Regions from separate parts of the Homo sapiens genome. Here region 2 is linked to region 1. Evidence: promoter capture Hi-C in 16 types of primary human blood cells and fetal thymus (Javierre and others, 2016). All regions are on one chromosome and are shown on one strand. The core of a region is centred on a gene start or on the middle of the fragment in contact, and the rest is flanking DNA. Distances in the headings are between cores, read along the strand shown. Region 1 overlaps CKAP2L (cytoskeleton associated protein 2 like). Region 2 holds the start of IL36A (interleukin 36 alpha).

Evidence for each region. The method cuts DNA at HindIII sites, captures the fragments that hold promoters and counts their contacts. A CHiCAGO score of 5 or more calls a contact.
Region 2: the fragment with the promoter of IL36A here is called in contact with a fragment that was not itself captured in region 1 in 2 of 17 cell types (M1 macrophages and M2 macrophages); the score reaches 9.5 in M1 macrophages.

What each region holds. Positions count from the first base shown.
Region 1 is chr2:112,742,881-112,748,092 of GRCh38, reverse strand. CKAP2L (cytoskeleton associated protein 2 like) reads left to right here. Exons shown (of 9, transcript NM_152515.5): 6 at 1,518-1,673. Among named protein-coding and RNA genes, the nearest start is that of CKAP2L, 19 kb to the left of the region's middle. The HindIII fragment of the contact is 823 bases long and covers 3,259-4,081 here.
Region 2 is chr2:113,002,275-113,007,431 of GRCh38, reverse strand. It overlaps IL36A (interleukin 36 alpha), which reads right to left and starts at 1,973. Exons shown (of 4, transcript NM_014440.3): 1 at 1,551-1,973; 2 at 1,345-1,458; 3 at 695-834. The coding sequence starts at 1,560. The HindIII fragment of the contact is 6,987 bases long and covers 1-5,157 here.

The DNA of each region.
Region 1 (5,212 bases), core at 2,421-4,920:
GATATTGGAGTTATTGAGTAATGGATATATCCTTCAGAACTCTAAATGTTGTTTTCATACTGTTCACTTCATTGTTTTATTACACTGGTTTCTAGGAGGATTTCACAGCTGAATTTTCAGCTCACAGATGTATTCTTCAGCGCTGTCCATGCAGTTGTTCTGCCTTTCTGTTGGTTATTTTTCATAACAGCCCATTCTAGTTTTAGGATAGCAATACTCTCTCTTATCACTCTGAAGATATTGACTGTGATACTCTTAAAAGTATTCCTCTTTGCTCCAGTGTTCATTCTTGTTTGTTGAGTTTTATGCCTCTTTCATGTAGTGTTGGTTTTCTCAAATGTTAGTGATTCTCAATTGTGAACTTACCTTTGCGTCTCCCCCATTTCTAGCAGTAGAAGGTGCTGCTTGGCTGAGTGTGCCAGTACCTGGATTTCTGGGCATGGTAGTGCTCCCCATTCGTTGGGTCCATGTCACTGTCCTGCTTACGGCACAAGCCAGAAGGGAACCAAACCAGTGAATCCATTTCAAATTATCTTTTTGTGGGATTTAACCCTCTTTCATAAACACCTGCATAAATCCCTGACACTTACACATATACACCCCTATGACCTTCGCATGCCTGTGTCATTCTTTACACTGCTATTAGTCCTATGGAAATTCTCATCACTACTCAGTGTTCTCGTTATTATAAATATGGAATATTATGAATATGTAAATGTTTACTCTAGGATTTGTTTTGTTTTTGTACCATGTAAAAATGAACATATTTCTTACCTTCAGCTATGATAAACATTTTCTATTTGGTCTCATATAACTCTTAAAATTTAATGATGAGGAAGCCAGGCTCAGTGGCTCATGCCTGTGGTCTCAGCTACTCGAGAGGCTAAGGTGGGAGGATTGCTTGATCCCAGGAGGTAGAGGTTGCAGCGAGTTGTGATCGTACCACTGCACTCCAGCCTGGGCAACAGAGTAAGACCTTGTCTCAAAAAAAAAAAGAAAAATTAAGCCAGGCATGGTGGCTCATGCCTGTAATCCCAGCACGTTAAGAGGCTGAGGTGGGCGGATCACGAGGTCAGGAGATCAAGACCATCCTGGCTAACACGGTGAAACCCCATCTCTACTAAAAATACAAAAAATTAGCCGAGCATGTGGTGGCATGTGCCTGTAGTCCCAGCTACTGGGGAGGCTGAGGCAGGAGACTTGCTTGAACCTGGGAGGTGGAGGTTGCAGTGAACCGAGATCGCGCCATTGCACTCCAGCCTGGACGACAGAGCAAGACTCCATCTCAAAAAAAAAATAATAATTATTATTAATCTCAAATCATTAAAATGGATAATTAAAACAGGTGCATTTTATTACATGTACATTGTACCTCAGTAAAATTGAAATTTTTTTAAAAGTTCAAAAATATTAGTGATCAAACCAATTTCTGCATACCTGCTGTAATAAATATTAGGAGATGTGAGACTAACAGTGAAATGGTAATAATTACCTCTGGATATTTTGGTTTATTTCAGGGTGTACCTTCTAATGAAATACTTAACATATTGTCCAGCATTCCTGAAGCTGAAAAATTTGCTAAATTCTGGATCTGCAAAGCAAAGTTGTTGGCAAGTAAAGGCACCTTTGATGTTATTGGGCTATATGAAGAGGCCATTAAAAATGGGGCAACAGTGAGTATCTGTCTTGGGTGGGTAACTTCTTAAAATTCTCTTTCATGTGAGTTCTCTGTTGTTGTTTGTAATATGATGGTTAGAAGTTTGCAACATCAATATCCAACACTTATAAAGTCATACCTTACCATAAAGAACTTAAAAATATATTAAACCCAATACGTCAGCATCCTTAAATCAATAATTCAGAGCCATTGCATGAAATAACTTTTAATTCTAAAATTTAGAAAAAAAAACTATATAATTATTATTTACAAAAACTGCATCAAATAGTTTTATAATGCTTTTCCTTAAAATGTCATTTTCCATGTCATGTTCTGTATTCTGTGTGATACCTTTTTCCATAATGGTTCAAAATCAGAATTGTACATGCACATAGTTTAAGCAGTCAAGTAGTTTGATAAGTTTCGTTCAGTAAGACCTCTGCCTTCCTTCCCTCCCATTTTCCCCTTCCTAGAGCAAACTGATTTATTTTTATATTAACCTCTATAGTTTCAGAAAACGTGTTTCTGTTTCTTGATTTTTCAGTTTTAGATATGATTTATGGACTTCCAGCTATGCAGAGTGAAGATTTAGCCCTCTTTCACACATACATACACAGATCCCCAGCACACACAAATACACACCCCTATTTACCATCCTTATAGACCTTTGCCATTCCTTATACTTTCATTAGAGTCATGGAAATTCTGGTCACTATTTAGCATTCACATTGTTATGAATATATAAGAAATATATGGGCTGGGCACGGTGTTTCACGCCTGTAATCCCAGCACTTGGGGAGGCCGAGGCAGGTGGATCACAAGGTCAGGAGATCGAGACCATTTTGGCTAACATGGTGAAACCCCATCTCTACTAAAAAATACAAAAAAGTTAGCCGGGCGTGGTGGCGGGCACCTGTAGTCCCAGCTACTCGGGAGGCTGAGGCAGGAGAATGGCATGAACCTGGGAGGCAGAGCTTGCAGTGAGCCGAGATCGGGCCACTGCACTCCAGCCTGGGCAACAGTGCAAGACTGTCTCAAAAAAAAAAAAAAATACATGAATATGTTGAGCCATGCAATATATACTATGATTACTTTGCCTTTCAAGCACAACTTTCTACTTTTCCTGGAGTTATTGTCTTGTTTTGCCTTTGCTTAGTTTTCTGAGTATTTATTATATAATTAATTCACAAACTCTTCGCTAATTGTCTAAGTTCCTCAATACTTTGAAAACATCAGATATTCTATTGATTCCTTTTTCTTAGATAAAGAGCTTTCTCCTAGACCCTTCTGGCTTATTCCAGACTGAACAAGTTACTTTTTACTGCCGTCTTCACCAGCTGTCTTTCTGGGATCTCTTTACCATCACCTTTAGATTCCCTTTACATCCTTCTTAAGTTGGGTGGATCCCTTGTTTTTAGAACCCATATTAGTTTTCTTCTTCCTACATTGTCTATTTCTTCTCCAATGTTTTTCATTTCTTTCTCTCTTGTTATTGTTTGTTTGTTCTTTTTGTTTTGTTCTCTATTATTCTTTAAAGGCTTTACACAGATGCTGGTGAAACTGGGCTGTTTGCACATATAAAAGGTGGGTCTGAAAAAGCTTATTTAAAGCCCGAGACACATGGATGGGGCTTCAACACAGGGTGATCTGGCTGAGTTGACTAGTTAGAAAACCCTCAATATCAGTATCTTTAGGTCTTTCCTCTTAAGCTGGTCAAGTTATCTGGAGAAATCTGTTCCAATCTCCTTCCTGGGAGCTAGACACCAGGCTGCCAGTGCTGTGGGAGAGAAGAGAGCAGGGAGTCTCAACCCTCAACATAGAAACTTTTGCTTATCTCCTTTTCTCAGAAAGCACCCTATCCTAATCTTGCATGATATCCCTCAGAGACTTGCAGAATACATTCCCAGTTTTCTGTTAGGATGAAGGGAGTCAGACACAGTTACTAGGCTGCATAGAGTTTAGGGGTGCAGGATGGATTTGGAGGTCTGACTGCTTTTTGAACAGATGCTAAAGAGTCCTCCTAATTTGGGCCCTACCACCCATTCCTTAGCCTTTCTGTCAGGTTGTTTCTTAGCCACACTGCCAGCTTGGGATTCAACTCTCTCAAGTAGATCAAATTGTTTACCTCTCTTCCTTCTGCACTGCAGCTTCCAAAACCTTATTGTCATTTCTTCTCTCCTATGTTTTGTGGTTATTGCCTCTTCTTAATCCCTTTATTATCCTTTCAGTCGATTTTCAAGAGAGATTAGAAATAAACGTATATTTAATCCACCATCATTAACCAGAAGGCTATACAAATATAAAATATGCTTGATGAATGTTGTATAGAATTCACTCTTTGTAATATATTCTATACATTTATTCCCATTCATTTAGCTGAAATCATAATTCTATTTTGGATTTTGAAAAAATGTACGGAAAGCTTTGCTTTTATGCTTTATTGTCAGTTTATATCTATTTGATACAGAGTTCCAGGTAAGGAAGACAAACCTCCAACTATAATTTTCTTGTGGGAAAGTGCAGCTTCTGCTTCATGGCATGGTTTACATACTTGAAAAATAAAGCCTATCTCAGATAATTTTATCAGAAAATTACTTTTCCATGAAGGTTTTTTTTTCTAAGTATGTTAACAAATAAAAGAAGAAAGACAGGAAAAGCTGGAGAAAATTACTCAAAATGCCTACAAAGATTGTATCTGGGCCAGGCACAGTGGCTTACCCCTGTAATCTCAGCACTTTGGGAGGCTGAGGCAGGCGGATCACTTGAGATCAGGAGTTTGAGACCAGCCTGGCCAACGTAGCGAAACCCCGTCTCTACTAAAAATAGAAAAATTAGCCAGATGGGGTGGCGCATGCCTGTAATCCCAGCTCTTCGGGAGGCTGAGGCAGGAGAATCACTTGAACCCTGGAAGTGGAGTTTGTGGTGAGCCGATACCGCACCATTGCACTCCAGCTTGGGTGACAGAGACTCCATCTCAAAAAACATTGTGTTTGGGGCCAGGTACAGTGGCTCACTCGTGTAATCCCAGCAGTTTGGGAGGCCGAGGCGGGTGGATCACGATGTCAGGAGATCGAGACCATCCTGGCTAACACGGTAAAACCCCATCTCTACTAAAAATACAAAAAATTAGCTGGGCGTGGTGGTGGGCGCCTGTAGTCCCAGCTACTTGGGAGGCTGAGGCAGGAGAATGGCATGAACCCAGGAGGCAGAGCTTGCAATGAGCCGAGATCGCGCCACTGCACTCCAGCCTGGGACAGAGTAAGACTCTGTCTCAAGAAAATATATCTATATCTATATATAAAATGCATTTTCTGTGTGGCTAGCTTTACATCATTGGGCCAGAATTTTTATGTAGGAATACATATTTGACAGTATTATACAAATCAATAGGAAAATAGAATTTGATGTAGACAAATTACATTATGGACAACTTTAAATACATCTGTTCATTAAGTCGAGTGTGCCAACACTTAATCAGAATTTTCTCTGTTCCTTTACTTTTCTCATGAAGCTATAAAACTGTCAAGCTAGACAAAAGATTTATAGTTAGACGAG
Region 2 (5,157 bases), core at 724-3,223, 260 kb before region 1:
AAGATGATTCTTTGTTTTCAGGGTCTGTCCTGTATAATAATATAGGATGTTTAGTAGCATCCCTGTCATCTACCCGATAAATGCAAGTATCACACCCCCATCCCAGGTTGTCACAACCAAAACATCTCCAGACATTGACAAATGTCCCTGGAGCAATATCACCCCTGGCTGAAAAACACTGTTTTATATCTTGTCATCAAGTTGAGTGTCTGCTTATGCTTGTTTACTGAAAAGGGTCAAGAGAGTTCCTGTAGTACACAGAGGCCTGCTATAATTATCTTTTTTTAATAATGGAAAATTGCGATTATTGAAGTGTTTATTACAGAGAATTATGTTTGTTCATTTAAAGTTGCAATGTATTTTTTGCCAAAAAGATGTTTTAATAAGTTCGTCTACTTTGTGATAATTAACTGCTAAAATGTCCTTGCTGATTTTACTCTGTGTGTGTGTTCTATTGAAGTTAGACATCATCCTTGCCAAATTATTAATATTTTTGTAAATTAAAATAATAAGTCATTTTAGTAGGTTTGTTTCAAAATGTCCCTGCAATTTTTCTTAGTCTTTCATAACATATACCAACCCCAAGGAAACCAAAAATAAAAATGCATGAGCATAATAAGTACATTGTCTTTTAAAAGATCCTGAAATCTGAGTTTCCATCAAATAAATGGCAGGACCTGTCTTCCACACTCACCTTCAGCTGCAGTGTGGGCTGGTCCCCGACTTTAGCACACATCAGGCAGAGATTGAGTCCATTCAGGCCCAGGTAGATGGGGTTCCCTCTGTCTTTCTCAAGGGTCTCCACATGTCGGCATGAGATTAAGGCAATAGTGACTGGGAACACGATGTGAAAAGTGGTGTTCAGCTGCCATTTCCAGGGTGGTACCTCTGAGCCAGAGTTTTAAGGGAATCTGCTAACTGACACTCACAGTGCACTCATAGAATGGTCACCTCACCACCCACCACCTAACCGGGACACCCATCCTATGTTTGGGGAACACTTTCCATTAGAAAAGTCAGTCTTTCATGGATTCAAAAACTGGTCCTCCCATAGATTACCCTCTTTTGTCCTACTCTTACTCCTTGAAGTTTCTCAGAATACGTCTTCCACTGTTTTTCATAGGCTGACCCTTCAGTCTCCCTTAAGCCTTCTCTCTCTTCTCTGACTTCATGACCATAGTCCCAGAACAACCTTATGCTCACCCTCTATTCATTATTGTCTGTGAGATGCTCCTCTCTGTAGATATGCCCGGTTAACAAGCCCACTGTGGAATAACATCTGAGCACCAAACACACAACAGCACTGGCCAAAGGAGCTGCCTTTCACAGACCGTGGCTACTCACCTGGAGACATACGGTCCTTCCTCGGGACTGCTATGAGCGTCTGGTCCTGAAGAACCCACACCCGATGATTGATATCCTGAATGCTCCCCTGCTGAGGTGTGTCAATTTTCAATGCTGTTGAGAAAGTCAAAATGTAAATTAGTAAGAATGAGAGCACAGAATATCACCCCCTTGTCAATTTTTCGCCCTTCCACGAGGATCTTTACCTTTTTCCATTGTGGTGGTGTTGTTTCAGAACTGCCAAGGATAGGAGTCCTTTTATGTGCAGACCGACCCCAAGAGAGGACCTGAGTCAGTCCCAAGCCACAGTTTAACCCTGGGTCAGATGAAAGACTGGCGGCCAGCCCAGCAGTGACCCCAGTCAGAATCTATACTCCCAGAACTCACCCAGCACCCTTACTTTGTTGGATGCAGTCTACCTCCAGCAGAAGCAGCTGCACCTATGAATCCTGCCCAGGCCTAGACCCAGGAACTCTAATATGACAAAGAGTGCCAAGGCCAAAGACCTGGAAGCAAAAAAAATCAGAGGTCACCAGACTTTCCAGCATAGGCCACACTGATAATCTGTTACGAAGGACCCTGTATCCCTACCATTATGAACAATGGCTTCTACTGCACTTGGGTTTTCTGACAGGCTGTAACAGGGCCCAGGCCTTTTATCCACATGGGCAAGGAAGGAAGTTCTGCCTCACTAAGTCTGGCACTGCCCAACACTCAGGATATTTTCTAGTTCCTGATGCCAGAGGATTTAGTGACTCTTTATGTGAACAGCATGGTTAAGACTTCTCCAAGCAACCTGAAACATGAGGGCATGCTAAACTTTTAAGAGCAGGAAATATAGTCACAGATACTGAGTTGAGAAACATTACGGGACTTCTTCCGGGTCAATGACTCATCTCTGATGCCACAAAATGAAACGATGGAATTATTCCTAAGAGTGGGAGCCCTCAGTAAGTGCAAGGTAGACTGAGGAGGGATAGGTCTCTTAAGACCTCTGTAGCTTCTAATCACTCCTGGTCCACAGGAACTATATTCTTGGTCAATTTCAGACCAGAAGCCCACTCACTCCAGTGACCCTCCTCCAGCTTCTCAGAGCCACTGTGCATGCTGCTTCTCCATGGAAGAAGGGAGTATTACTGTAGCAAAGCCAGCTCCTGAGCACTCTAGCCACCTCAATGGACTCTAGATCACTATCTCTAGTATAGGTAGCGTGATAGTAAATTTTAAGTGTCAATTTGACTGGTTTAAGGAATACTTAAAGAACTGGTAATACATTAGTTTGGGGTAAGTCTATGAGGGTGTTTCCAAAGAAGATTGGTGTGTAAGTCAGTGTACTAGTGGGGAACATCTACCCTCAACGTAGGTGGGATCCATCCAACTGGCCGGGGGCATGGATGGCATGGAAAAGACAGAGAAAAGGTGATTTTCTGTCTCTCCTGGAGCTGGGGCATTCTCTCCTGCCTTTGGACATTATAACTCCAGACTTTGGACTCCAGGACTTAATATCAGCATCTCCCTGGGTTCTCAGGCTTTCTATCCCAAAGTGAGAATTACACCAGTGGCTTCCTAGTTCTGAGGCTTTAGGACTTGAACTGAGCATGTTACCTGCATCCCAGGGTCTCCAGCTTGCAGGTGGTCTGTCATGGGATTTCTCAGCCTCCAAAATTGCATGAGTTCATTCCCCTAATAAATCCCCTTTCATACAAGAGGTCATCAAAAAGTTCATGGAAAATGCATATTATGAAAAAAACTATGCATGGATTTTGAATTATTTTGCACCAAAATAAACTCCTACTAACTTGTTATAAGGTGTTTGAACAGGATCTAGTTTGAGGCACTAAGAAAGGTAAGACATCAGTTTGAAAAGAGCCCCTATAAGATCAACATGAATTCTTCTAAAATTGAAGCAAGAACAAAAATCAAATTTATGGTGAAACTTGGGTGGAAGAATGGTGAAATCATTGATGGCTTATAAAAAGTTTGTGGGGACAATGACCCAAAGAAATCAGCAGTTTACAATGGATAACTCATTTTAAGAAGTGAGACAATATTGAAAATAGCACCTGCAGCAGCAGACCATCCACATCACTTTGCAAGGAAAAAACTAATCTTTTTGTGCCCTAGTTGAAGAGGACTGAATATTAACAGCAGAAATGATAGCCAATATCATAGACATCTTAATTGGTTCAGCTTACACAATTATGACTAAAAAACTTAAAGTTGAAGCACAATGGCTCATGTCTGTAATCCCAGAACTTTGGGAGGCCGAGGCAGGCAGATCACCTGAGGTCAGGAGTTCAAGACCAGCCTGGCCAACACAGCAAAACCCTGTCTCTACACAAGTTTGTCAGTTGACCCTGCAGAACCCACTTATACAAAAAGTCAGCCCTCTTCATCCACAGGCTCAGCATCCCTCAATGCTGGTTGGTTGAACCTGCAGATACAAAGTGCCGATTCTGTATGTGTGTCTGTGTTTGTGTGCATAAACACACATCCTAATGATTCTATCTCTCTGGAGGCTCCTGACTAATACAGCAGGAAAGGAAGCCTGGCTGCCAGAGGCCCCAGTGCTCTGAGCTCGCAGTACCTGACATTAGGTCTACACTAAAAGGAAGCTGAGGTAATACTGTTGATGCTCTGCTCCATACCTTCAACAACCTGAGTTCACAACTGCTGTTGGAGATCCTAGCATCTGTCAGCTTCACACCTCTAGGGCTTCCATCTCAGGGGCAACTTCAGTAAGTGGTGAAAGAAACTGGTAGACAAATGTTCAGCCACCCCATCCTCTGATACGATAACACTAAGGTTTCTCAGAGTTGCCCCATAATAGTAACAAGATCACTAGCATTTTCTCTATTGGATCTCCTGGAATAATCCCCTGAATGAGCTCCCTGCATCCAGGATCTGCCTTGGGGAGAACCCAAACTAACACAGTAGTTTGGTGTTTGAAAGCAAAATACTTGTATTCAAAAGATGTGCATTCAAAATTAGGTTTTGCAACTTTTGGAATTGTGTCTTTGGAGAAATTCTATCACATCCCTGATCCTCAGATGACGCATATGAAATGCATTACACCTTGCTGGGCTGTTATGTGGGTTAAAGAAGAGCATGAAAAGCTCTCCATAAGTGACAGCTTCCTGGAGCAACTGACCTAATGAGTCCCCTATGTCTGTCACCAAGCCCCAGATTGACCTGTTTATCTCAGTCAGCATTTTTGCTGTGACTACCAATAGATCATCTCAGATCTCGGTTTTTTTGCAACTTCATCAATGACCTATCTGGCCAGCAGGAGAATTTCCTTCTGTTTACACCCTGTCTCCTTCCCAGATATTCCTACTGCATGGTATGATATAAAAGGCCATTAAAATTTTGTCCCAGGGAGCCCCACAGTCATCTCCTCAAGAGTGTGAAATCATGTATAGCCCAAATTTAAATGTGTAGCAGGTATCCCTGAGTCAAAATTAGAATTTGGTATCACGCTGAGTTTATAAAGAGGAGCTTCCTCAGGTCTCCATTAGCATAAGATGATTTCCATACTCAAAGAAGAAAGTTCAGAGCCTATGACATCAGCTCCACTCTCTCTGCACAGAACTGAACCCACATGAATATCTTGGGGGAAGAGGCCCAAGGTCCTTCCATAGGTATGAAGATGCAAACAGACAAAACATATTGGTTTGGATGCTGCACATATGAATGCAAACTCATTTGTGACAACAGCTAAGATGTAGGTCCTTTAAAATTCTTATTTCATCCCATAGATACTTGGAGCTCTATATGGCCTGGGTACTTAGGCCACAGTGCCATCAGTGGAGG